7 separate regions of the Homo sapiens genome follow, and all the other regions are linked to region 3. Evidence: promoter capture Hi-C in 16 types of primary human blood cells and fetal thymus (Javierre and others, 2016). All regions are on one chromosome and are shown on one strand. Each heading gives the region's core, a stretch centred on a gene start or on the middle of the fragment in contact. The rest is flanking DNA. Distances are from core to core; before and after follow the strand shown.

Region 1 (3,708 bases), core at 234-2,733, 720 kb before region 3:
TTTGGGGAAGAGTTGGGCCTACTGTTTAAACCAGGGGTCCCCAGCCCCCAGGCCACGAGCAAGCATTACCACCTGAGCCCTGCCTCCTGCCACCATCAGTGGCTGCATTAGGAGCATGAACCCGCTTGTGAACTGCACATGTGAGGGATCTAGGTTGCGGGCTCCTTATGAGAATCTTATCTAATGCCTGAGGACCTGAGGTGGAGCAGTTTTATCCTGAGACTTCCCCTGCCCCAGTCAGTAGACAAATTTCTTCCACGAAACCAGTCCCTGGTGCCAAAAAGGTTGGGGACCCTGATATTTATTAAAACAAATCAGATGTTCTTTCCCTTTACTGGTATACTATGTTTATATAAATTTATTATATTGTATTAATGTCTCGATTAATATAAAAGATTAAATGCAGGTGTAATTTTCTCTTTGTTGAAATATTTTTTGAGAATAAATTTTCACAATGTGTATTGTGTCAATTTTCATAATTCATGCAACATACAATTTGATATATGACTTGTATTTCCAGTTTTACTAAGCAGATCTAGACATCTGTTGAATAAAGTCCAGTGTATTACAAAAAATTGAACTGACCCAGGGCCGGGCACAGTGGCTCACGCCTGTAAGCCCACAGCACTTTGGGAAGCCGAGGCAGGCGGATCACAAGGTCAGGACTTCGAGACCAGCCTGGCCAGTATGGTGAAACCCCATCGCTACTAAAAATACAAAAATTAGCTGGGCGTGGTGGTGCGCGCCTGTAGTCCCAGCTACTCGGGAGCCTGAGGCAAAAGAATCACTTGAACCCGGAAGGCGGAGGTTGCGGTGAGCTGAGATTATGCCACTGCACTCCAGCCAGGGCAACAGAGCGAGACTCTGTCTCGAAAAAAAAAGAAAAAAAGAAAAGAAAAATTGAACTGACCCCAATTTGTTATTAAAGGGTGAATATATTTATATGTCTAGCTTTTTAAATGAGAATGATTTGACATAACCCTGAGCTTTTAAGTGGTAGCCATAGTATGATTATTTCTATTAATATTATTAATAAAAACATAACTAATTAGGTTTCTTGTTTTATTTTAGCGAAGAATAGCCAGAATTCAGCAAATCGAAAAGGACATACTTCGTATACGACAGCTTTTACAGTCCCAAGCAACAGAAGCAGAGGTTAGTAAATTGCCTTTCTTGTTTGTGGGTATAAAAATAGGTAGTTATTCTGAGAAAAGAAAACATGTATAATTTAATGTGACACCATTGAAATATAGATGTTCTTTCAGAGAATTTAAATACCGTAATTTTTTTCGTGAAATTAAATTATCAAAGATTTGGACTATTTTGATTTTATCTAACTTTTAGGCAGTTAAAATTTATAAAACTGTAAATATAGATACCTTACTTTAGCTGTCAGTTTACATATAATCAAATAGTTAACTTAATTTGGCTACTATCCAGTAAGTAAACTTTTTTATAGATAATCCATAGTAAGAATTGATAATACACATTTACCTGTGTTTACTCCAGAAACCCCATTAAAGTGATAGTAAAAGGATACAATGAAAGAGGCATTAAGACCAGGGAAGGTGACCACAGTAAAATCCGTGGAGCTGGAAAGCAGGTAAACAAGTGATAACATTCTAGCATATCAGAGAGGGTTGACCCATAAGGCAGCAATAGGAATGAAAAGTCATGAAGCAACTAGATACCTCTGGGTGTGAGAGTAAAAAAGGGTTAAAAGCAGGAAGATATTTGAAAATCTGTTAAGAAGCAGATGGACTTTCCAGAACCTCCCTACAACCCTGTACAGCTAGGTGACTGCTCCTTTCCAATCCCAGCAAAAGATGAGAGCTTTCTCCTCTGAAGAGGTGGAGAGGGTAAACAAAGGGTCTTTGGTTAGGGGTCAACCTTGTTTAATTGAACGTGAGGGTATCATACGAAACACTGAATTACATGAAAATTTACCTACTGAATGCTGAAACCCCCACTGGCATCCAGGCTTATAATCTCCAGGCAAGTTTCTGGAAGGAACTTCTATAAGGAATGTGACTAACCCTGATTCTGCTGAGAGAACATTAAAAAGGGAGAAAAAAAATCAGAAGAATGTGACTAACCCAAGAAAAAAAACTTAAAGAGACTTACATGGAAAAATTCACCCAACAAAACAACCCACCTAGATCACCCTATAGGGTAATATAGTTGACAAAATCCATTCTTCAGGCATAGAGCTTCATTTAACTTTTTCATAGATAGCCCGCTCTTAAATATGAGTGGACACTAACTACCAGACAGTATAGATCATTCTAGGAAGGTTCAATATCCAAATAAAAGGAGTTCCAAAAAGAAAATGGAGAAACTGGAGACAGGAAATTAGAGAAATAAATCAAAATTTCTCAGAAATTTTAACAAGGGGCTTAGTTTTCCAAAAAATTGGTCTCTCCAGTATCTAACATCATGTATAAGAATAATCCTACACTAAGACACATCATGAGGAAATTTCAAATCACTGGGGATAAAAAGAATATTCTAACAACCTTCTGGAGAAGGAAGAGAAAACAAATTTCACATAAAGGAACAGGAATGCAAATGCCTTTACATTTGTAAATAACAGCACTGGAAACTGGGAAGTAGGGTAGGCATTTCTTAAAACTTTTCTTTTTTTAAGAGACGTGGAACTAAGTCTCTTAAAAAAAAAAAAAAGGTAGGATGATCTAGCTGGGTTGTTTTGTTGGTGAATCCTGCCATGTAAGTAAGTCTCTTTAAAAAGTTTCTGTCACCCAGGCTGGAGTGCAGTGGCGCAATCTCGGCTCACTGCAACCTCTGCTTCCTGGGTTCAAGTGATCTTCCCACCTCAGCCCCCGAGTAGCTCATGTGCCACCATGCCTGACTAATTTTTGTATTTTTTGTAGAGACGAGGTTTTGCCATGTTGCCCAGGCTGGTCTCGAACTCCTGAGCTCAAGCAATCTGCCTGTCTTGGCCTTCCAAAGTGTGGGATTACAGGCGTGAGCCACTGCGCCTGACCCCTGTTAAACCTTTTAAAAGAAAATATGTGCAGCTATGTTTTGACCCCAGTTCTTTGACACCACTGTATATCCTCCAGTTGGGTTCAATTTTGATCCTAACTACCCAGAGTTAGAGTCAGCTCCACAAGTAAAAGACAAAGTCAGTCACAAGACTGTCCACTTCAAACGCCAGCCACAAGTTTTGGGTGTCCCTAAGCCACCAGGACTGCTGCCAAGCTGTCTATAAATTCCACCCCGTGTGCGTGTGCTGTGGTACCATTCCATTCTCACACTAACTACCCAGAGTTAGCACAGCCCCAACAGGTTAAGAGCCGACTCCTTCACAAGACTGCTCCCACCTCAGATGCCAGCCACAAATGTTGAGTATCTCCAAGCCACTCACATTTCTGCCCAGTGTGTTACAAATTCCAGGCTTCCACATCCCCTTCACGTTCAGTAATTCATTAGAATGGCTCACAACTCACTGAAAGTGCTATACTTAGGATTAACAGTTTTATTATAAGGATACAGATCAAGAATGGCCAAATGAAGAGACATATGGGGCAAGGCCTAAGGAAGGGGTGTAGGAATGGGGATGGGGGTGCAGAGATTTCATGCTTTCTCCTAGTGGAATCTAGGCATGTCACTCTTCTAGCACTTCATTGTTTTGTTTTTGTTTTTGTTTGAGACAGAGTCTCGCTCTGTAGCCCAGGCTGGAGTGCA
Region 2 (3,610 bases), core at 1,102-3,601, 960 kb before region 3:
CTGGGCATGGGACTCAAGCCAATCGGATACTCTCTCCTTAAAATGTGATTCTTGATCAGAGAAACAAAAGACTAAAACTATTGTTGCTGAAACAGTAGCAGTACCATGAAAATACTGTTCATTAGTTTCAATTGCACATATTCACCTGAAAGTTACAAGGAGAAGACTATAACTTCTTTATGTTCAGGGACTTCATGTTCAGAGTTCATATTGTTAACCACTAGATCCAAAGTGCCCAGCACAGTACCTGGCATAGAGTAGGTGCTAAATAAATATCAGCTGTGTGAATAAATAAAAATAATAAAGAATTTCCAACAATTTAACAATGCAATTGTTATATCATGAAGTAGTGAGTTCCTTGTCACTGAAGAGATTAAAATAGAGCCCATCTCTCAGCATGACAAAAAAAAATTCCTGCATTGAGTAGGTGGTCTCCAAAAAGCATTCTACTTCTGGCTTTGTAATTCCACAACTATTTCTTATTTACTCTTAAAAAACATATTTTAAAGTAAAAATAGAACACCATATTCACACAATATACAGAACACAAACTAGGTGGTCGGGACAAGAGATATATGACATTTTTTCAAAAGTAGGGTAGCATTTCTTCACATGCTCACAAAAAAGGCCAGCAAAAGCTGTTGCAGGAGATGTAAACCATCACTGGACTTGTTTGCAGTGACCTACACTTGATCTATTTCTAGTCTCAAGGAAAGCGAAATAAGAAAATGGATAGTTTGGTTGCCATGGTTATTCCCAGCCACCAGCTCACCTCACCACCCATTTTCCATCATTTCTAATAACCTAGTTTCCCAGAGTGATACTGTAGGAGCCAATAACCCAGGCTCTTTATTAAATGGTTTCCCCTGGTGCCACCCTCATCCAGCCACTTTTTACAGCTTTCCTTTGTCTCACCAGTCTTCAGCATGGCTCAGGAATGAAAAATACTCACCTAAAACTACCAAGATTTTTCAGTGCAGGGAAATCTTGTGCTTGGTTGCATCCACTTAAGATTCTGAATGGTTTATGTCTTCCTGAACTTTAAGGATAAATTCCTCTGTGGCCAAGGGGAAAACAGTTGAGATGGTGGGTTGCTATTTTCTTTAACATTGATTTTACTTACTTTATAATCAGCCTACTTTGCCTGGGAAAGGAAGGTGACATTTAAGAAAACAGTCTGGAGAATGTGCTATCTGGTGAAACTCAGCTAGACAGCTCTCTTGGTTGTTTCAGATTTCTTTAGTAGCTAACAAAGACAGTAGCTCAACTTTTGGCAGAAGCCCATGAGAATGGAAAGTATCCATTTGGAGTCTCTTAGGAGATACTTTGTGGGAAATTGTGCTTCCTTGGTAAATTCTGGTCTATATTACAGCAGGCTGTGGAAGTGTGGCTTTCTATACACACAGTTTTTTAAAAGGTATTGCTGGTGACACAGATCTACACATCTAAACACTAGGGGGCAACCTTGCCTTTTGTGTCACCAATCAAAGCCATTTTACAGAACCATAATATTTAAGGAAATACATGGAACCATCAAATCTCAGCCTTCTTCTTCACCAGTTTTATTTTAATATTGGCATCCAGATGTTACAAACGGCCAAAGGCCATTCTTAAAAGCAGATCCAAATTAGGGGAGGATTAAATGTATATAGACTTGAGTTTTTCATAGCATTCACTGGAAGGAACATCAGCAGCCTCACAACTGTTAGAATTCCCTCCCGCTCTGGGTGTGGACATTCATTGATTAAACGTTTATTTCAGGCAGCGGGGATTCTCTGGTGAACAAGAGACAAGGTCCTTGCTTTTGTGGAGCTTGCACTGAAGTAGAGGAGACAGATACTAACCAAGTAAACGAAAATAATTTTAGGTAATAATTTCAATGAAAAATAACACCGTAATGGAATAGAAATAGGGCATGAGGGGAAGAGAACAGTGCCAGGAAAGGCCTTAGAGAAGCTGGCATGTGACCTGAAGCCCAGATGAGAAGGAGCCAGCCAGACCAAGGGCTGGGGGAAGAGTGGTCCAGGCAGAGCGAAGAGCAAGTGCAGCAGCCCTGGGTAAGGACAAGCTTTGGGTGTTTCAGAATAGAAAGAAGCCAGTGTAGCCAGAGCATGGAGAGGGGAGGGAAAGGTGGGATAAAATGAGGCTGGAAGACCATCCGGGTTCAGACCACATAAGGACTGGTTGGCCAAGGAAGGAGATGAATTGTATTCTAAGTTCGATAGAAAGCAGTGGAGGAAGAGTCCAAAGGGCGAAGGGACTCGAGTTCACCTTCGCTGTTATCGCCGAGGATGTATTCTGCTCCTGACAACACTCACATTGCTCCAACCTAGGACCTCTCAGCCCAGAACAGAGCTCAGAAGCCCAGCACACCCCAACGAAGGCATCCTTTAGAGTGTGGATCCGTGCAAGGAAAAGGCAGAGGCAGAGGCAGAGGCAACATTTTGGAAACACTGAACCCTGTGGCCAGTACCCATTTTCCTCTGAGAAAATATTTCAATCCACAAACCTCCTTTAGGCCAGAAAGGAAAAACAAAAGAGGTAGAATTTCCCACTGTGATATGCACAGATCAAATTTAGGCTCTAGGACACCTGAGTTCTGTGTGGCTCTCTTTTTTGCCTGGCACCAAACAATGAAGCTTTATGATAAACAATGATGGTGACAATTTGACAGGAGACTTGGTCTATCTCTTGCACTAACTAAGGCATTTTAGTCAGAGGGCAAACATTCTGTAGTAAATGAAGGCTGGCTCAGTTAGCCTGAAGCAAGACTTTCCTGTCCACGCAGTCATACCCAGAGTTGTTTATGAGCCGCTCTGCTTACTTAGCTTTGTGGTGGGGCACTGACTGGCATCTCAGCAGGCTGGAGTAGAAGGGAAGAGGAGGCCTTGCCACCTGACTACACAAAACAAAGGTGTAGGACTGCATTTTCCCACATAACTGCATGTGGGCACGCAAGTGCTCACAGACCGATAAGCTGCTTTTCTATGACTTTTTCCCCTTTTTGAGGTTGTTCTGGATGAATGTCATTACCTGAGAAACTGGCCCATACAAGTAACATAAGTGAAGAATGTATATGTTGCAGGGTCTGCATCCAAGAGGAGAGGATGTGCCCCATCGAAAGGGAACAGCTGCCACCCAGCTCCAGTCAACTGTTTCCATGCAGGAATGTGGGGCCAATGCTGTAAGATCTCCTGATTTGTCTACAGAAACTGGAAATCCAGATTTTTTTGTGCGATCTCCTCTTTAAATGTTTGCAAATGATTTAATAAAAAATATCGCTGAGCTGCCAAGTAAATTGTGTCTGTGGGCTTGACATGGTCTGTGGGTCTCTCATGTATGAACTCTGCTTTAGTCAATTTTCTAACATTTATGAAAATTTCAAGTGTATAGAGAAGGTGAAATAACTACAGTGCACAGCTCTAGATGCCTATCACCTAGATTCCACTTGCTTTCTCACCTATCTTTTCATTTATTTATTTTAACTGTATGGGAATTTGAAGGGGCAGGAAAGAAGGAAGGAGAGGGGAAAGTCCTGTAGAGGTGACTCTCGTATCAACTCATCTCTGAAAGTTCAATTGCATCCATTCACCTGGTTTTCTATTTGGCC
Region 3 (3,364 bases), core at 221-2,720:
ATGTTTAGCTAGGTGGTTTTGCTAATCTTGCTTTGGGTTGCTTACAGAGTTGTGGTCATCCAGCAGCTTTTCTAAGACTAGACTTTCCATTATGGCCTTTTTCACGTCTTGCCCTTGGTGCTGGTGGATGATTGGGCCATAGTTGTCAGTGGGCTAGCCTAAGCTTCTTTACTTTGTGGAAGAAGAATTCTCAGCAGCAAAACAGGCTAAGCCTTAATGCACAAACACCTTTCAAGCCCCTGCTTATCTCGTATTTGCTGATGTCCCAATGGCCAAAGCAAGTTACATAGCCAAAGACAGAGTCCATGTGGGAAGGAAGAATACAAGGGTGTGAACAGAGGAATGTGTGATTCATCAAAGGCCATACCTTTGATGAATTCAACAATTTACCATAATGTTACAAAAAAAAATCTTCCCAAATCTCAGCAGTTTACCACAACTAAGAATTATTTCTTACCCATGTCATATTCCAATGTGGGTTGGTGAGGACACTCTATCACACTCGTTCAGGGAATCGGGAACCTGTTATCTATCTAGTGGTTCCACCGTTGTCTAAGAACTTCCAGAAGACCAGGAAAGACAGAGAAGGGAAGATTCAAGGAAGGTGTTATAGACCAATCCTGGAAGTGGTATACATCAGTTCCAGCAACATTCCAATGGCCGGAACTCAGCCATGTGGCCCCCAGCTAACTGCAGGAGAGTTGGGAAATATAATGCCTAGGAAGAAAAGATACTTCTTGTCACCAAATATTCCGCCCCCTTCTTACCACACACAGAATACACATATACCCTCCCCAGACACCTGGAATTCTATCTAGTCACTGCATCCAGGATCTGTTGTTGATACACAGTCCTCTTTATTAGATCCAGATGTATATCCTCATTGCCAGGTAACTCATGAACTATGTAAATATGTACTACATACCTGCCCCCACTCAGCTACCCTGTGTAGCGTGATAGAGCAAGGGTGGCATACTTGCATTAAAATCTCCCATTCAGAAAAGGGAAGAATGCAAGACACACAACAGTGGCTCATTCTTTAGTATATGTATTTTTTATGATATTTTTCCAAATATTGCATGGGAAATATATACACTAAAAATTATTCGTTTATCTGAAATGCAAATTATTAAGCATTCTGTATTTTTATTTGCTAAATCTGGCAACCCTCCTCCCACTAAAATATAAACTCCATGAAGGTAGGAACCTTGGCTCTCTGGTTCTCCAATGTACATCGAAGGCGTGGCATAATGCCAGGTCCACAGTAGAAGCCCATACATGCTTACTGCAGGAATTAATGAAGGACTAAACGAAGTAGCAAGTGAGTGAATAAGAAGATGAGGAGCGACCCTTGGTGGGCGGCGCGGGAAGAGAACCGCACCATAGCTCCGCAGACAGCCTCCTTTAGGCGCGCAGCGGCGGCCGCGCTGAGGTCACGGGCGCCGGCCCTGGTGACGTCATTACGCCCGCGCTCCTCGCCTGGCCGTGATATCAATGGCGCAGGCTTCACTTCTGCTGTGGCGGTGACTGAGGCCTTTCTGGTGACCTCAGCCCAACACAGGCCGTCTCCGGAGCTTCCCGGTAGTGGCCCCGGATTCCCACGGTCTTTGTCATTGGCTGTCAGCTAGCAGGCCTGGCCGCTCCCGTGCGGAGAGACCATCTCTTCAGGGCAATGTCCAGGCCGAGCAGCGTCTCCCCGCGGCAGCCGGCTCCTGGCGGTGGCGGAGGCGGCGGCCCCTCGCCTTGTGGCCCTGGGGGCGGCGGCCGGGCCAAGGGGCTGAAGGACATTCGCATTGATGAGGAGGTGAAGATCGCAGTCAATATCGCGCTGGAGCGCTTCCGATACGGGGACCAGAGAGGTGAGGTTCCGGACAGGGACCATGCTGGCAGTCAGGATACCCCCCTCACCCCAGCGCCCCCCAAACGGCGGCCCACCGAGTGATGGGGGTGCCTCCGAAGAGGGAGGGAAGACCCGGGCCACCGTCCGGGGCGGGCCTCAGCGGCGGCACCCGGGTCTGGAACGCGGCTGTTGGCCCTGCGGTGGAATGCGAGGTGCTCTGCGGATCAATGGGGTTATGGGCACTTTGCTCCCTAGCTGAAAGTGTTTTTCCCCCGCGTCTTTCAGCAGCCTTGGGCGGTTAAGCCACCGTGTTTCAGATATTGGTTAGCCCTAACCCTTTTTAAGGGGGTGTCACCTAATTGTGGCACGTTTAAGCTACAGATGTAGAAGAGCAGAAAGAAATCAAACATATAAATAAATGCACCAGCAATACGTTTGGACCCTGAAGCATCACGCTACCCACTTAAATTAAACTTGTTTGGCACACGAAGCATCTTCCACACCTCTTGAGGTTAGATAGCCACTTGTCTTGGGTCATATAATGCAGAACCAGCAACTGACCTGCGGTGACCTGTGCAGTCTGTTGAGGGCTCATTCGGACCTGCTGGCTTAGTTAGGGGACCTCTTACTCTGGAATCTTATAGTCCAAAACGGGGAATGTTCTAGACAGAGAGATTCTAAATTCACATTAAAAAAAGAGAAAGCCTCAGCAATATATAACAAATCCCTCTGAAATAGTGAAATACGAATTCTGTACAGTTTTGAAAGCAAAGACAATGGAGTTTCATGTTGAGAATTCATAATATTTGAACATATCTCATCATTGAAGAAAATAAACATTTTGTTAACTAAACAAGTAGGGACCAAGTTAAATATGTTCAGTCATTATACCAACTCAAAATTCCAGAACAAGTAAGAGGAGTCGTTTTTGGTGAATATCAGAGGCCTTTATCACATTTAGGTTTAATACATAGCTGTCTTTTTATTAATATCAGAATTCTGATAGACATTCAGTAGTTATTGAATTAATAAAATATCTTAATTTTATTAATTTACATAAATAGAATATGAAATATAAAGTTAACCTCAAATAAAGTATAATAAATTTGATTGTCTATGTATGTTTTTCATATTTTGTATCTGTGTGTTTTACTTGAGAGAAAATTGCCTATCTACAAATTTTACTACTTTGTTTTTTTTCCGTGTAGAAATGGAATTTCCTTCTTCTTTGACCAGTACTGAAAGAGCCTTTATTCATCGACTCAGTCAGTCTCTTGGTTTGGTCTCTAAAAGTAAAGGGTAAGCTGGTAGCTTTTCTTATTTTTTTTAAAAAAGATTATTTGCCCAAAAAAGGGAGAAACGTTTCTGAGTACATTTAAGTACTTATTACTGTTTTAACTTCACATTCTTAATTGTATCATATGTAGATAAAAGATTCAGGTCTGTACCAAATTCAACTCTTTCCTCTTCCCTCTGTCTACCTCTTCCCCCCTTTTTTGTTTTGTTTTGTTTTTCCCTAGGAAA
Region 4 (3,374 bases), core at 715-3,214, 740 kb before region 3:
TGCTTGAGGCCAGGAGTTCAGGACTAGCCTGGGTGACATAGTAAGACTCTTTCTTTTTTTTTTTTTTTTTGAGATGCAGTTTCACTTTTGTTGCCCAGGCTGGATTGCAATGGCACAATCTCGGCTCACTGCAACCTCTGCCTCCCAGGTTCAAGCGATTCTTCTGCTTCAGTCTCCCAAGTAGCTGGGATTACAGGCATGTGCCACCACGCCTGGCTAATTTTATATTTTGAGTAGAGACAGTGTTTCACCATGTTGGTCAGGCTAGTCTCAAACTCATGACCTTAGGTGATTCCCCCCTGCCTCGGCCTTCTAAAGTGCTGGGATTACAGGCATGAGGCACTACACTTGGCCAAGACTCTGTCTCTTTACCAAAAAAAAAAAAAGAAAAAAAGTAGTAACTGGATTTTTATTGAATTTCTGATTATCTATTGAAGTATATTCAGTAACTACTAGATTCAGTAAAAGATGACTCTTTTCATTATGGAAGGCCCACTACAAGTGGCCACAAATGAAATACTTCTTTTTTTTTTTTTTTTTACTTTATAAATAATAATTGTACATTTCATGGGGTACATAGTGATGTTTCTACACATATAATTTATTGCAATCAGGTTAGCATATCTGTCATCTCAGACATTTATTATTTCTTCGTGTTAGGAACATTCACTGTCTACCATCTAGCTATTTGAAACTATGTAATATTGTTAACTGTGCTCATCCTATGGTAGCGTAGAACACAGCCCTGTACAGTAGCGTAGAACACAGTCCTGTACAGTAGCGTAGAACACAGTCCTGTACAGTAGCGTAGAACACAGTCCTGTACAGTAGCGTAGAACACAGTCCTGTACAGTAGCGTAGAACACAGTCTTATACAGTAGTGTAGAACACAGTCCTATACAGTAGTGTAGAACACTAGAACTTATTCCTCCTATCTAGCTGTAATTTTATATTCTTTAACAAATCTCTCTTTATCTCTTCTTTCCCTCTGTGTTTCCTAGCCTCTAGTATTTACTTTTTACTTCTGTTAGTAAAAAGTAAATTTTTCTTTTTTTTCTTCTTTTTTTTTTTTTTTTTTTTGAGATAAGAGTCTTCCTGTCGCCCAGGCTAGAGTGCAGTGGCGCAATCTTGGCTCCTGCAACCTCCACCTCCTAGGTTCAAGCAATTCTCATGTCTCAGCCTCCCGGGTAGCTGGGATTACAGGCACGCCCCACCGCGTCCGGCTAATTTTTGTATTTTTAGTAGAGATGGGATTTCACCATGTTGGCCAGGCTGGTCTCGATCTCCTGACCTCAGGTGATCTGCCTGCCTTGGCCTCCCAAAGTTTTGGGATTACAGGCATGAGCCACTGCGCCTGGCCAACAAAACATTTCTTAATGTATAAGTTTTAATACCTGAAAAAAAATTGCTTGATGTATGGAATGAGTTCTGATTTTTCACAGCTAGTGTATTAATTCTTCTCTTCCTAAAGTTAACATTATCTCACTGCAGATACCAAAATATAGATCATTATCAGGAACTTCGTCAAATGTTTTATGTCCCCTAAAAGATTCCTTAATGCACATATTAAGGAATATCTTTATTATCTTTATATTTCTAAAAGTTCTATTAGACATTCAGAAAATGGTAAAATATATAAAAGCTTCATATTATCTCTGTGACCTTGGTTAAGTCATTAAATTTTTGTACCATTTTCTTCTGTAAGATAAAGATATGGTTCTACTTTGTGGCATTGTTGTGAAAATTGAATATTAGTATATAGGAAATGCCCAGCATATCTCCCTGAGAGGCAGAAGACCTTTTATAACTTTCTCTCCAGTTTCATATATGCCCATTTATAAAAATAGGGATAATTATCTGGACGAGAAATGATGTTTCACTGTCTTTTATTTCTTAAGTTTACATAAGTCTCTGTTTCATACATTGATCCTAGACTATTGAAACACCATCTTGAAAAATAAGGAGTGAACTTGGGTCCATAATCTTCCATCTCTTTTTCCCCTTTGAGCTCTATTAAGAGGCAGAGGGCATGCATACTAACCTTTCCTTACTTGCTTTCTTTTCCTTACTTTGCTTTATGTAGGCAAAGTCCTGATTTTATTAGCAGAGAGAGGGAATTTCAGAGAAAAATATTAATTTTTGAAATAAGTTTTACTGCAAATACTAGTAAACCTAACAAATACAGCTGTAAGTGGTAAGGAATACTTGTAATAAAAATGTTCTTAGTTTCTGTCTTGACATTATTTCTTGCTAGTCTTCCAGAGTTCTTTGCATCTAAATCTAGGAAAAGCTTATTTCTCTGTTCAAAGACTTAAATGCAATGATCCCCATGTTTTATTTATTATATAATACCACTGTAAGTAACTTTAAGCTAGTATTCTGACTTTTAACTCCAAGTGGAAAATACATTTCTTTTTAAAAATATTTAAAGGTGCTTTAGCCTTTTCTGTTGTTACTGTAGAAAAGACGTCTTGTTTTTGTTTTCGTTTTTCTCCCAAAATATGGCCCAACTTCTAATTCAGGCTTTATTACACTCTATAAAAAGTTGCTTTATCTGGAGAGAAAGAGGTATCAACATGGTGTTGTTAGAAGGTTCTCAACTCTCACTGATCATTAGTATCACTAGTTTAGCTTTATAAAGCATCATAAATGAAAAGTATCAGTATTCCTTTGCTATGTTCAGTCTCATTTCCCATGAGATAGTTACTTCTATAACTCTAAATAATATGTTTATATTGCTAGTATTGGACATGACTTACTGACTCACCACTCTGAAAGATGAAGATTTGTTAAATTCACTCAATTATCCATCCAGTTTTTAATTCTGTACCAATTCTTTGGTCGAATTTGTATACATATACACATAAGCAAATACACATACATATATATAAGTTCTATTTCTTGTTCTTTCCTGTGAGTGACTGTGTCTACTGAAGCCCCGCTGTATAAGATTTGGCAACTGTGTGTTTACCTTTATTTTGTTAAGACTGTTAACAGTTACATCATACTATATATATTTAAGTCTTCATGTTTTTTTATTCTGTAAATTAAGCATAATGTTGATGTGAAATAAGTGGGTTTTTTTAGGACTCTGTAGTCGTTGGACACTGTGAGTCAGTAGTATGCCAGAATTAATTTTTGCTCCCTATTGATAGAATATCATACTCTTTGTGCTGTTTAAAGGAAGATGATGCTATTTGGACTGTGTCTTTCTTATATAGCTCTTTGTTTTTGTCTCAAGTTTCTAATTGCCTTTCTTTTATGTTTTCGGGAGCAGAAACTTGTGCCTTTATGATAATATGAGGATCTAGTTTCATTTTATTCATAAATAAATTTTTATTGGAGCCAATGAATTTTTCTGATCTAATTTGTAC
Region 5 (3,833 bases), core at 1-2,500, 690 kb before region 3:
ATTTATCTTAAAAGTGATGAAGTCATGAGACTCTTACACAGAGAACCTGAACAGCCAAAAGTATTGTCTCCTTCAGAGTCATCACTTTGGGAGGCTCTGCACCTTAAGATTTCAGGCCTGCCCTCTGGCCATGCTTTCCTTCCTAGTGGTGTAGCAATTGGCCTACCTGATTCTCTTTCCTCCCCCTGGTCTCCTGTGGATTCTCAGTTAATCTTATGAATTCTCCCCTCGTTAATACAATCTCAGCATTTGTGAACATTTTAAATTTTTTAAAATGCTAATCATAACAGGAAGGGGATAAAAAATAATGAATAAACAGGAAAACATTCAGTTTTAAGATACCTCAAAAGTTATTCTGTAAATGTTCCTGTATTCCAATGGATTGTAGACTAGGACTGAGACATTAATCATCTGGATTTCAAAATAAAACCTAGACTCAGTATTTGTTCCTCTTCCTTCTTCAGGTAGGAAGGCTACCCGGGGCATTTCATCACAGGAGCTAGGGCAGGGGCTTTCAGGTGAGGAGCAGGATGGGGCCTCTGGGGGTGTGACTGCTGGGGACATAGCCACAGGGGATTACCTTCTTCTCACTCCTCACCTCCAGATTTGCACTGGGGCAAAAGGAGGATTAGGGTGTGTGGATTGCGGGGAGATAATAGTACAAGACAGCACAAGGTTTTGGCAGTAAGGGATAAGGAGAAAAGAAATCCCAAATAGGTAAAGGGGAATTCCTTAGTTCAGTCAGCTGGGATGGTCATTTGTACATATATGAAGATTCTACAGCTATCAGTCATTTAAGTTTGCACTTATTAGTATTAGAAGTTTTAGAATATAATTTCCATGATATATGTTTATTGATTCCCTAATCTACCCCAGAAACTGTGCTAGGCACTAGATTTTTATAATGATTAAGACCTGGTCCTGGCTTTCAGGGAACTCACAGTTTATTTGCATTAGTGTTTCACAAAATACCTAAATCATAATGATCACCCAGAGGCACTCGTCAAACTGGATTTTCTGGCACTGTAGCAAACAGAATCTCCAGGGGAAGGGCCTAGGAATCAATGTGATAAGTGGCCTGGCTGATTCTTATGTTCGGGAAATTTTGTGAAACACCAGTAGAATATTCTTGTTGAGCCTGTGATATTTATTTTAGAACAAGGCATTTCATGCTAATGGTGACTATCTAAACCAAATAAAACAAAAGCAATATGCTTTTTAAAATTATCAGTCTTTCTTTTGTTCATAAGAGTCTAAATTAAGGATTCTGTTGAATGTCACCTGAGTCTGTTGGTGCTCTACTATCGGTAGTTTTACCCTATTGGGCAATAGTCCGGTCTATTTAGACCACTGTTTTCTAACAGGCACCAAGAAAATTGTAGAAGGACATGTTCATCATCTTTGCATTACCATGAAACATCCTGATTTTTCTTAGAGCAACCAGTTTTTAATTGTATCAATCCAGTCATGAATTTGCATATTTTAGCAAATCCATTTATAGGTTTAACCTATGAATTCTATTCTGTGCCTCAAAATTCTCTGAAATCTTTTCATTTGCCTGAAATCAAAAAGCACTTCCTCTTTTATCTGATAGTCTAAATTTTTTTGAATGTTCTTTTTTTATTAGCCATGTTCTTCCTGAATCTGTTGATATCTGCCACATTCTTATTTAATCTTTATTTTCAGTATCAAATCCTAAGATTTTTAGTTTTTCCATACAAGAGTACTCAACTCTTTGATCATGTAGTGCCTTCTTGGCATCTTCTTTAGGTGCATTTTATCTTTCTTAAGAAAGTATCCCAGTTATTGTCACACCAGGCAAGATTTTATACAGACAAAAGGCATAGTTTGTTTTGTTTTGGTATTGATCCTCTGCTTTAAAATACTCGACATCTTGGGGATCTCATTAGTATACCAGGCCAAGTCTTAAGGTCTTCCCTGTCAATTTCATGGGTCAAAATTCTCAGTTCTTTTACAGGCTCCTTTTCTTTTACCCAAGTGTAAAATGGTGGAATTCCTTGAAGCTCTGCCCTAGGCTCTTTTCCTTTCTCTCTATGCTTCTGTTATAGTTTTTGTTTTTGTTTTCAAATTTACAGCTCAATTTGAGTTTTTTCCCTGAGTTTTAGACACATTATTGAACTGACTATGTGACATCTTCCCTTAGGTGGTATTTTAGACACTTCTAACTCAACTGTCACAAACTGAATTCGTAATCTTTCCCATCCCTGAATCTCTTATCTTTTCCCAGTTTCCTTTTCTCAGAAATTCCAATCCAGTTGCTCAAATTTCAAAATCTTGGAAATCATTCACGATGCCATCCTTATCCCCTGCAAATAGCAACTGACTGCTTTAATTCTGCTACTTAAAAGTATCTTATGTCATCACTCTTCTCTTCATCCCCAGTCCAAGCCACCATCGTCTCTCCTGTTCTACAATACTTTGTCTTACTTCTCTTCCCATTTCCACTCATAGTCGATTTTGTTCACTGAAACCATAGTAATCTGTTTAGAGTGTGCATCTAATTATTCCTTTTTCTGCGTAAAATCTTTAATGTGGCACATAAAGTCTTATGTGATCCGGCATCTACCCATGTTTATAGCCTCATTTTGTGGCCCTCTCCTTGCTGTTAAATATTTCAGGCCCAGGGGCCCTTTCACATGCTGTTTCCTTTGCTTAGAACGCATCTTTCTTCTTCCTGCCCCACCCTTGTTAGATACGCATTCATCTGGCCAGACCTGATGGCTCATGCCTGTAATCCCAGCACTTTGGGAGGCCGAGGCAGGAGAATCACTTGAACCTAGGAGTTCGCAACCAGCTCGGGCAACATAGTGGCACCCTGTCTCTACCAAAATAAAAATAAAAAGAAAGATACACATTCATCCTTTACGTTTCAACTTAAACATTAAAAGATTATTTCCTCAGCCTTTTTCTTATGGAGCCTAATCCCAGGTCTAAGTTAAGTCCACCTATTATATCACCCTGTGGTTCTACATAGTTCATCTATCTTTGCTCCAATCTGTACGCTCTTCATAAAGACAGTGACTGATTTTTGTTCACTGTCTCTGTATTTTGCCACTGTTGCAGGTGAATGGAGGAAAATTTTCCTAAATATGATTTGGATTTTCTTTAACCAAATTAATTTTCACTTACCTACATTCAAACATGTCTGTCATTCCTGCTAGTAATAAAGTTTTGCATAAATCTTCCTACATTTAAATCCCTTGGCTTGGAATTCTTGACCCACGACAGAACTTTGTTTTACAAACTTGCAGATTCTTCTGCATATTGAACTTCCCAGATCACTTATTAAAAATATTAACGTACTGGCTGTCTTGCAGATGAATGACCTAATTAGACTTGTAGTATCCAAGAATTGCCTGTTTATATTCATCTTTTTCTTTCTGAGTCCCGTGATGATTAATATTTGATGAATTATATTTTGAATAGCCTCCACATGCATTTTTCTCTTTTGTTCACTTCCTCACCATTTTGCTTCACTTTTTTTTTAACTGCTTCCTTTGTGTCTTTCCCATTCCTTTACCTTTGTTTTCTCCTTGACTTCCTATTGTTGGCCATTGTGGGCATTGTTTAGCATTTTCAGTGGAAAGAATCAGGGGAAAGAAAATACTAAATCTTAGTATAGTTAATATTTGATATTATCAACGAGAAGTAAGAAATGTTTTGAAAAACACAAATCAGTAGTTTTATATAACTTAATAAATTGAACAGATGATCATTTTTTGTAAAAAAAAAAAAAAACAAAACTTTTTAGTTTTTCTTCATGCACAGTTTCATTTAAAGGCATCCGTATTCCTAAGGGTAATTATTTGCCA
Region 6 (3,647 bases), core at 1,148-3,647, 780 kb before region 3:
GTGCTATGAACCATAAAATACAGTGGATCTGTAGAAGCCAGAAAGGATAAGGAAACAGATTCCCCCTTAGAGCCTCTAGAAAGAAGTGCAGCCCTGCAGACACCTTGGTTTTAGCCTAGTGAGACCCATTTTAGACTTCTGACCTACAAAACTGTAAGTTATCAAATGTGTGTTTTAAGACACTAAATTTGTGGTAATTTGTTTTGGCAGCCATAGGACATTTAATACGCCTAGGAACTATTTTATTGTAGGAAGACTAATTAACATGACCTCAGGGCACTCCATGACTAAACTCCAAACTGTCTCTGTTCCACTGTCAGCAGTAGAAAGACATGGAATGTTCTTGAGCAAAAGTGTGAAGAACTATTTTGGTGTTTGCTGATTAGAGAGGATATTGGTGAGAGGAAAATTAATTAAGATTCTATTAGATGCTAGGAACACTTCTTTTGAGACTCACTCCTTGAGGTAACATAGAACATACTGGTAAGTCTTGCCCGTAGAAGACTATGAATATATCTCCCAGTCCTGTGTGGCTGCTCACGTCTGTAATCACAGCACCTTGCGAGGCCAAGGCAGGAGGATCACCTGAGGTTAGGAGTTCGAGGTTACAGGGAGCTGTGCTTATGCCACTGCACTCCAGCCTGGGTGACAGAGCAAGACCTCGTCCCTGAAAAAATGGGAGATGGTTAGGTGGATGGATAGACAGACAGACATATAGATAAAGATAGACACGTGGGTCAAGATCTCCCACTTAGTTTATACATCACTGAAAATCTCATTGCCATTGTAACATTTCACCTCGTTCTCGTATCCCATGAAAAATACAGAACCAGTTAGGCACACATCTAACTTATCTCTTCTTAGGCTTTTCCATCGTACCATAACTAACTATAAGATCCGAACACTGAAAGGTTTCTAAATCTGAGCTTTATTTGATGCCTTAGTACCTGTAGAAGTTAAATTTATACTAGTAACTGTTTTTTCAATGCATAATTATTATTTTGAAAGAAAAAAAAAGCTTGTTGATATCTGTAGGCATAACTCTATTCTATGTCTAAGGTCTTCGGTAAAGAGAGACGATTAAGTTTATCAGTAAAGCACCAGAGTCAATTAAGGCGACTGAAAGGAGCACTAATTTTAATTCATTTTACACTAGTTAATATTGTCAATATTCTTCTTGTCAGTTTTTTAAACCAAAAGTCTTAAATTAGGCCAAAAGTGCCTAGGTAAAAATGGAATGGAAAGGGTTTTCTTGTGTGTGTGTGTGTGTTTTTTTTTTTTTTTGAGATAGAGTCTTGCTTTGTCACTGAGGCTGGAGTACAGTGGTGTGATCTCGGCTCACTGCAGCCCCCACCTCCCAGGTCCAAGAGATTCTCATGCCTCAGCCTCCCAAGTAGCTGGGGAATGTAATATTTAAGACATTAAGAATCCTATTAATCCTATTTAGTCATTTTTTTTTGTAGCTGCAGAAGGTTCAGAAGGGTTTTTTAAGTTGAATTATATGTTCATATTTACAACATTTACATATGAAACCATTTACTAAAAGCAATGAAGCTGGTTATAACAAACACTGATACTGAAAATAAGAGATATGTTTGTCAGTGCGGTCTTTAAACAGTGTTACACAATTTATTTCTGTTTCATTTTGATCAGAAAAAATATATATATCTTTTGAGACATGGTCTCTGTTGCACAGGCTGGAGTACAATGGCGAGATCTCGGCTCACTGCAACCTCTGCCTCCTGGGTTCAAGTGATCCTCCCACCTCAGCCTCTAGAGTAGCTAGGACCACAGGCGCGTGTCACCACAGCTGGCTAATTTTTTTGTATTCTTGGTAGAAATGAGGTTTCGCCATGTTGCCCATGCTGGTCTCCAACTCCTGAGCTCAAGTGAACTGGCCACCTCGGCCTCCCAAATTCCTGGGATTATAGGCATGAGCCACTGCACCCTGCCCAGAAAATATTTTTAATGCATACATATATATATATATATATGTATATGTAGTGTAAATAACATCTTCAATCAAATAGAGATGGCAGGAGCTTTATTCTGAGCTATGTGCAAACTTGATAAGACAAGGTAATGCTTCAGTAATTTTCCATGCTGAAATTTGGCCCAGTATACTTTGATTATATATCTATATTTAATTATAGTTTTAAAATAGCTAAGCAGTTTTAAAAATTCAAATTAAACTTTTGTGGAATCTCTAAAAATAAGAAAAATATTACTGAGTAATTGGCAACATAAAATACAAAATGTTTAACTTGGCTTTCTTTTAGATTTGAAGCATAGTGACTAATGAACATATAATGGTCGTAGCTTTCTTTACAACTATGTCATTTAAGTCACTGATGAATATCTATGATACATGCAGTAAAAATTTAGACAAACATTTTGGCTACAAACTGGTTTACTAAATAATAGCTTGTATCATAGTCTGAGTCAAGAGTAATAGGCTTACAATTGTGTCTTAGGGTACTAAGAAGTTCTTTTGAGGACCTTTTAAAAGGTATTCTTTGTTTTGAAAGACTGTTTTCCTTCTGGAAGTTCTAGGCCTTATGAGAAATTACCTATTCTGAATTTGTCACAAAAAATGACTTGTAAATAAGTCCTGTGCAGTGAATCATGTGCTTTCAGTAAGAGGATTTTGAAAGCCTTTTGTAAAATGAAGTCATTCTCAAAAGAGAGTTATTTAGAATATAATCAAATTGATTTACATGCTTTTATTTATTTCAAATATGAAGGGAAATTGTTTCTAAATATATTTAAACTTTTAATAGAACAGTAGTATGCCATCAGTGTGGAAATAACTCACTTGTTAAATAAATATTTGGGGTGTATTTGCTGTATATCAGGCATTGTAACACAGGGACTAATGAAAGAGAAAAAAAACAAAGCACGAAAGGACAGCAGAAATAGCTCCATAATCTCACTTTCCAGGAATAACCTCTATGGACATTTTGTTGTGTGTCTATTGCTTTTCTAATATATACATTTTTTAATCAAATGGAATTGCCTCAAATATGCTATTTAATAGCTTGCTTCTTTTCATACTATTTGAAAATTAAGAAACGATTATAATATGCTTCATTTAAAAACTTTAAGTTTAGGCCGGGCACAGTGGCTCACGCATGTAATCCCAGTACTTGGAGGGACCGAGGTGGGCGGATCACAAGGTCAGGAGATTGAGACCATCCTGGCCAGCATGGTGAAACCCCGTCTCTACTAAAAATACAAAACTTAGCTGGGCATGATGGCACGTGCCTGTAGTCCCAGCTACTTGGGAGGCTGAGGCAGGAGAATCGCTTGAACCCGGGAGGTGGAGGTTGCAGTGAGCGGAGATTGCACCACTGCACTCGCCTGGTGACAGAGCAAGACTCTATCTCAAAAAACAAACAAAGAAAACTTGAAGTATAGTATCCTTTTAAATTTTAAATAGATAATAGAAACTGGTTTCCCCCCATTTAAACCAGAATTTAAGTTTAACTTTATATATTCTTGACAGTTTGGATTTTGTCCTTCAACCTCATAAAATTGGGAATTTAAGCATCACCTGGTTCGATTTAAATGCAATGTAGAATTTGCATTAAAATACTACATTAAAGCCTCAGATTTGTAGTAGCTAACAGCACTTCTATGTATGTGTC
Region 7 (3,497 bases), core at 342-2,841, 810 kb before region 3:
ATCCATCATTTCTTGTCTTCTAGACACTTGCCAAATCTCTCATCAGCTGATGGAACATTCTTCATTCTCAATAGTCACAAATTTATTCCCTTTTATGCAGTTATTGGGCAGGGAACAGACCCAGGTTTTATCATGAAAGGGTGTTGCATTTTGTCAAATGCTTTTTCTGTATCAAATGATGTGATTACACATGAATTTTCTTCTGTAGCCTGTTGTATGTAGATAATGTAGATCACATTGATTTTCGAATATTGAACTAGCCATGCATACCTGGGAGAAATCCTACTTGCCATGTCATATTTTTTTTAAATATATTATTGGGTTTGATTTTCTAGTACACTCAAAATCCTCCATATCTGTGGGTTCTGCATCCATAAATTCAACCAACTGCAGATCACAAATATTTAGAAAAAGAACAATAAAAATAACAATATAACAATGAAAATAATAAAAATAAAAACCAATATAGTATAACAACAAGTTACATAGCATCTATCCTGTATTAGGTATTACAATCATGAAGTGCATAACAATATTTTAGTCAATAACAGACCACATATACAACGATGATTTCCTAAAATTATCATTCTATATTTTTGCTGTAACTTTTCTATGTTTAAATATACACACACCTACCATTGTGTTACCATTACCTACGGTATTCAGTGCAGTAACCTGTTGTATAAGTATGTAGCCTAGGAGCAATAAGCTAGATCATATATCCTATGTGTGTCCTAGGCTATACCATCTAGGCTTGTGTAAGTACATGCTATGATGTTTGCACAATAACAAAATCACCAAACGCATTTCTCAGAATGTATTCCTGTCGTTAAGCAGAGCATGTCTATAAAGTCATCTAGAGGTGATTTAACATATACAGAGGATATGCCTGGATTATATGCAAATACTGTGCCATTTTATATAAGAAACAAGTATCTGTGGAATTTGGTATTCTCAGGAGCTTGAAACCAATTCCCCATGGATTCCAAGAAAAAACAATGTTTCGTTGAGGATTTCTGTGTCTAAGTTTATGAGAAATATTGGTCTGTAATTTCCTTTTATTCTACTGTTTTTGTCTAGTTTGGGTATCAAAGTAATACTGGCCTCATAAAGTGAATAGAGAAGTAGTCCTTCTTCTTCTATTCTCTAGGATAGAATGTTTAAAATCAGAGCTTATTCTTCTCAGAATGTTTGGTAGAGTTCTCCAGTGAAACCATCTGGGTTTGGAGATTTCTTTTTCCAGAGCGTTTTAGTGGCAGTTCAATTTATTTCATGGTTATAGGACTATTCTGTTTCATCTTGTTTGAGCTTTGGTCATTTACGGTTTTCAAAAATTGGTCCATTTCTTCTAAAGTTGTTTAATTTATAAGTGTACATGTGTCCATGGTATTCCCTTTTATTCTTTTAATAGCTGCAAGAATTATAATTATATCCTGTTTCATGACTGATATTGGTAATTTGTGCCCCCTCTCTTTTTATTTTGTCAGGCTTGCTAGAGGTTTATCAACCAGCTTCATGTTCTATTGATTTCCCTATTGTTATTCTTTTCAATTTCATTGATTTCTGCTTTTATCTTTATTATTTCCTTCCTTTTGCTTTTTTTGAGTTTATTTTGCTCTTCATTTTTCTTGAGGTAGAAACTTAGGTGATTAATTTGGGATCTTTTCTAAGGTAATCATTTTATTTTTTTGAATGTAGTCATTTAGTGCTATGAATTTCCCTCTCAGCACCACCTTAGCTTCATTCCACCAATTTTGATATGTTGTATTTACATTTCCATTCAGTTCTGTATATTTTCTAAAACTTTCCTTTGAGACTTCCTCTTTGCTGAGGTATTATTTAGAATTGTGTCATTTAGCCCAGGCACAGTGGCTTACGCCTGTAATCCCAGCACTTTGGGAGGCCAAGGTGGGCAGATCACTTGAGGTCAGGAGTTCGAGACAAGCCTGGCCAACATGGTGAAACCTTGTCACTACTGAAAATACAAAAATCAGCCGGGTGTGGTGGTGGGCGCTTGTAATCCCAGCTACTCGAGAGGCTGAGGCAGGAGAATCGCTTGAACCCGAGAGGCGGAGGTTGCAGTGAGCCAAGATCGTGCCACTGCACTCCAGCCTGGGCGACAAGAGCAAAACTCCGTCTCAAAAAAAAAAAAAAAGAAGTGTGTCATTTAATTTTCAAGTGTATCGAGATTCTCCCATTGCCTTTCTCTCATTGATTACTAATTAAATTTCATTATGCTCAGAGGACATATTCTGCATAGTTTTGTTTTCTGGCCAAAGATGTGGTGTGTCATGGATGCTTTAAAAAAAAAAAGTGTATTCTACTGAGTGTTGTATTAATGTCAGTTAGATCCTATTGATTAATTCTGTTGTTCAAGTCTTCTATGTATTTGCTGATTTTCTGCCTAGTAGTTCTATCAATTACTGAGAGAGGGATGTTGATGTCTCTAACTGTAATTGCAGAGGCCCATGATAAGGCATTGAATTTGAAAAAAAAAATACAACGTTTGAATATAAATTTAGGTGAAAAAGTAAATATTTCTTTAGAATGAAAAAATAAATCTAGAATGCTGACACAAAATCCACAAGCATCACAAAACCTGGAAAAATAACACAAGTGCATTATTTTACTGCCTGACATACCTCTGTAGTTTTGTCCTAAATTTTTTTCTAGATGCTCTTTAAGTGGTGATTTTGTTTTATTATAATTTAATAGATTGAATAGAAATATAATTGTCTTTCTTCTAACATGGTTAATCACAAAATTTTTATTATTGATAGTTTAGATTTTTTTCAGCTTGACAACTTGTTATTAGTAATGGCTTGTGATTTCTTAAGATTGTTATCTCATTTGGGAAAATTTCCATCATGTCTTTTCTTTTTCCGTGTTACCTACACGTTCATTTTCCATATGTGCTATAAAGTTTGGAAGAATTTTCTATAGACTAACTTCTGGCTGTATACATACTTCGGGTTCAGGTGCCACAGAACATGTTCATGTTACAACACAAACTCTGGTCCTGCCCCATTGTGTTAGAATGCAGACAGAGTCAGGCACTGGACTGTAGAAGTACTCCTGGAAGTTATTACTCCACTAAGATAGTTATCAATAAGATACTAGACACAGACATAACTATGAATCACATAAATATCCTCTGACCAAATTTTTAAAAATGTCTCTTAAACTCAACTTCCCCTTAGCTGGAACCCAAAGTTATTACAGCTACTCTAATACCACCTGACAAAACAGACCTGTGACAGACAGTAAGTCAAAGTGGAAAGAGAAATGCCCTTAACCAATTGTGATTAAGAGATACTACTTTTGCAGATTTTACAAAAACTTATGAACATATTGCTAAGGCATTTTCCAGGACCTTGAAAAGGGCCCACGCAAGTGAAGAGCCTTGAAGCTTAACATTCATTAGTTTCATCAAAAATTAAGTCCTGCTACTGATATTTTAGTGGAATATACAGAGGAGAAGGAAGTAAACACTGGTA

Evidence for each region. The method cuts DNA at HindIII sites, captures the fragments that hold promoters and counts their contacts. A CHiCAGO score of 5 or more calls a contact.
Region 1: a contact is called between a fragment that was not itself captured here and the fragment with the promoter of YTHDC2 in region 3, in 1 of 17 cell types (total CD4 T cells). The highest score is 5.8, in total CD4 T cells.
Region 2: a fragment that was not itself captured here is called in contact with the fragment with the promoter of YTHDC2 in region 3 in 3 of 17 cell types (total B cells, total CD4 T cells and fetal thymus); the score reaches 7.7 in total B cells.
Region 4: a fragment that was not itself captured here is called in contact with the fragment with the promoter of YTHDC2 in region 3 in 6 of 17 cell types (fetal thymus, activated CD4 T cells, total CD4 T cells and 3 more); the score reaches 6.1 in fetal thymus.
Region 5: a contact is called between a fragment that was not itself captured here and the fragment with the promoter of YTHDC2 in region 3, in 2 of 17 cell types (naive CD4 T cells and activated CD4 T cells). The highest score is 5.4, in naive CD4 T cells.
Region 6: a contact is called between a fragment that was not itself captured here and the fragment with the promoter of YTHDC2 in region 3, in 4 of 17 cell types (monocytes, total CD8 T cells, naive CD8 T cells and 1 more). The highest score is 6.8, in monocytes.
Region 7: a fragment that was not itself captured here is called in contact with the fragment with the promoter of YTHDC2 in region 3 in 2 of 17 cell types (naive CD8 T cells and total CD4 T cells); the score reaches 5.7 in naive CD8 T cells.

The regions. Positions count from the first base shown.
Region 1 is chr5:112,791,375-112,795,082 of GRCh38, forward strand. APC (APC regulator of Wnt signaling pathway) reads left to right here. Exons shown (of 16, transcript NM_000038.6): 7 at 1,072-1,155. Among named protein-coding and RNA genes, the nearest start is that of APC, 55 kb to the left of the region's middle. The HindIII fragment of the contact is 9,096 bases long and covers 1-3,708 here.
Region 2 is chr5:112,550,164-112,553,773 of GRCh38, forward strand. No RefSeq gene overlaps it. Among named protein-coding and RNA genes, the nearest start is that of LINC02200, 76 kb to the right of the region's middle. The HindIII fragment of the contact is 571 bases long and covers 2,067-2,637 here.
Region 3 is chr5:113,512,224-113,515,587 of GRCh38, forward strand. YTHDC2 (YTH N6-methyladenosine RNA binding protein C2) reads left to right here and starts at 1,471. Exons shown (of 30, transcript NM_022828.5): 1 at 1,471-1,859; 2 at 3,049-3,139. The coding sequence starts at 1,673. It overlaps LOC124901046 (a long non-coding RNA gene), which reads right to left and starts at 1,435. Exons shown (of 2, transcript XR_007058905.1): 1 at 1,208-1,435; 2 at 1-717. RefSeq lists enhancers at 1,227-1,276, 1,273-1,774 and a silencer at 1,727-1,956. The HindIII fragment of the contact is 3,291 bases long and covers 162-3,364 here.
Region 4 is chr5:112,767,991-112,771,364 of GRCh38, forward strand. The region is part of intron 4 of APC (APC regulator of Wnt signaling pathway); the gene reads left to right. Among named protein-coding and RNA genes, the nearest start is that of APC, 32 kb to the left of the region's middle. The HindIII fragment of the contact is 648 bases long and covers 1,641-2,288 here.
Region 5 is chr5:112,822,843-112,826,675 of GRCh38, forward strand. All of the region lies in intron 11 of APC (APC regulator of Wnt signaling pathway), which reads left to right. Among named protein-coding and RNA genes, the nearest start is that of SRP19, 37 kb to the right of the region's middle. The HindIII fragment of the contact is 7,562 bases long and covers 1-3,833 here.
Region 6 is chr5:112,733,525-112,737,171 of GRCh38, forward strand. It overlaps a transcript of APC not described here. Among named protein-coding and RNA genes, the nearest start is that of APC, 2.5 kb to the right of the region's middle. The HindIII fragment of the contact is 2,763 bases long and covers 1,017-3,647 here.
Region 7 is chr5:112,698,178-112,701,674 of GRCh38, forward strand. No RefSeq gene overlaps it. Among named protein-coding and RNA genes, the nearest start is that of APC, 38 kb to the right of the region's middle. The HindIII fragment of the contact is 3,631 bases long and covers 1-3,407 here.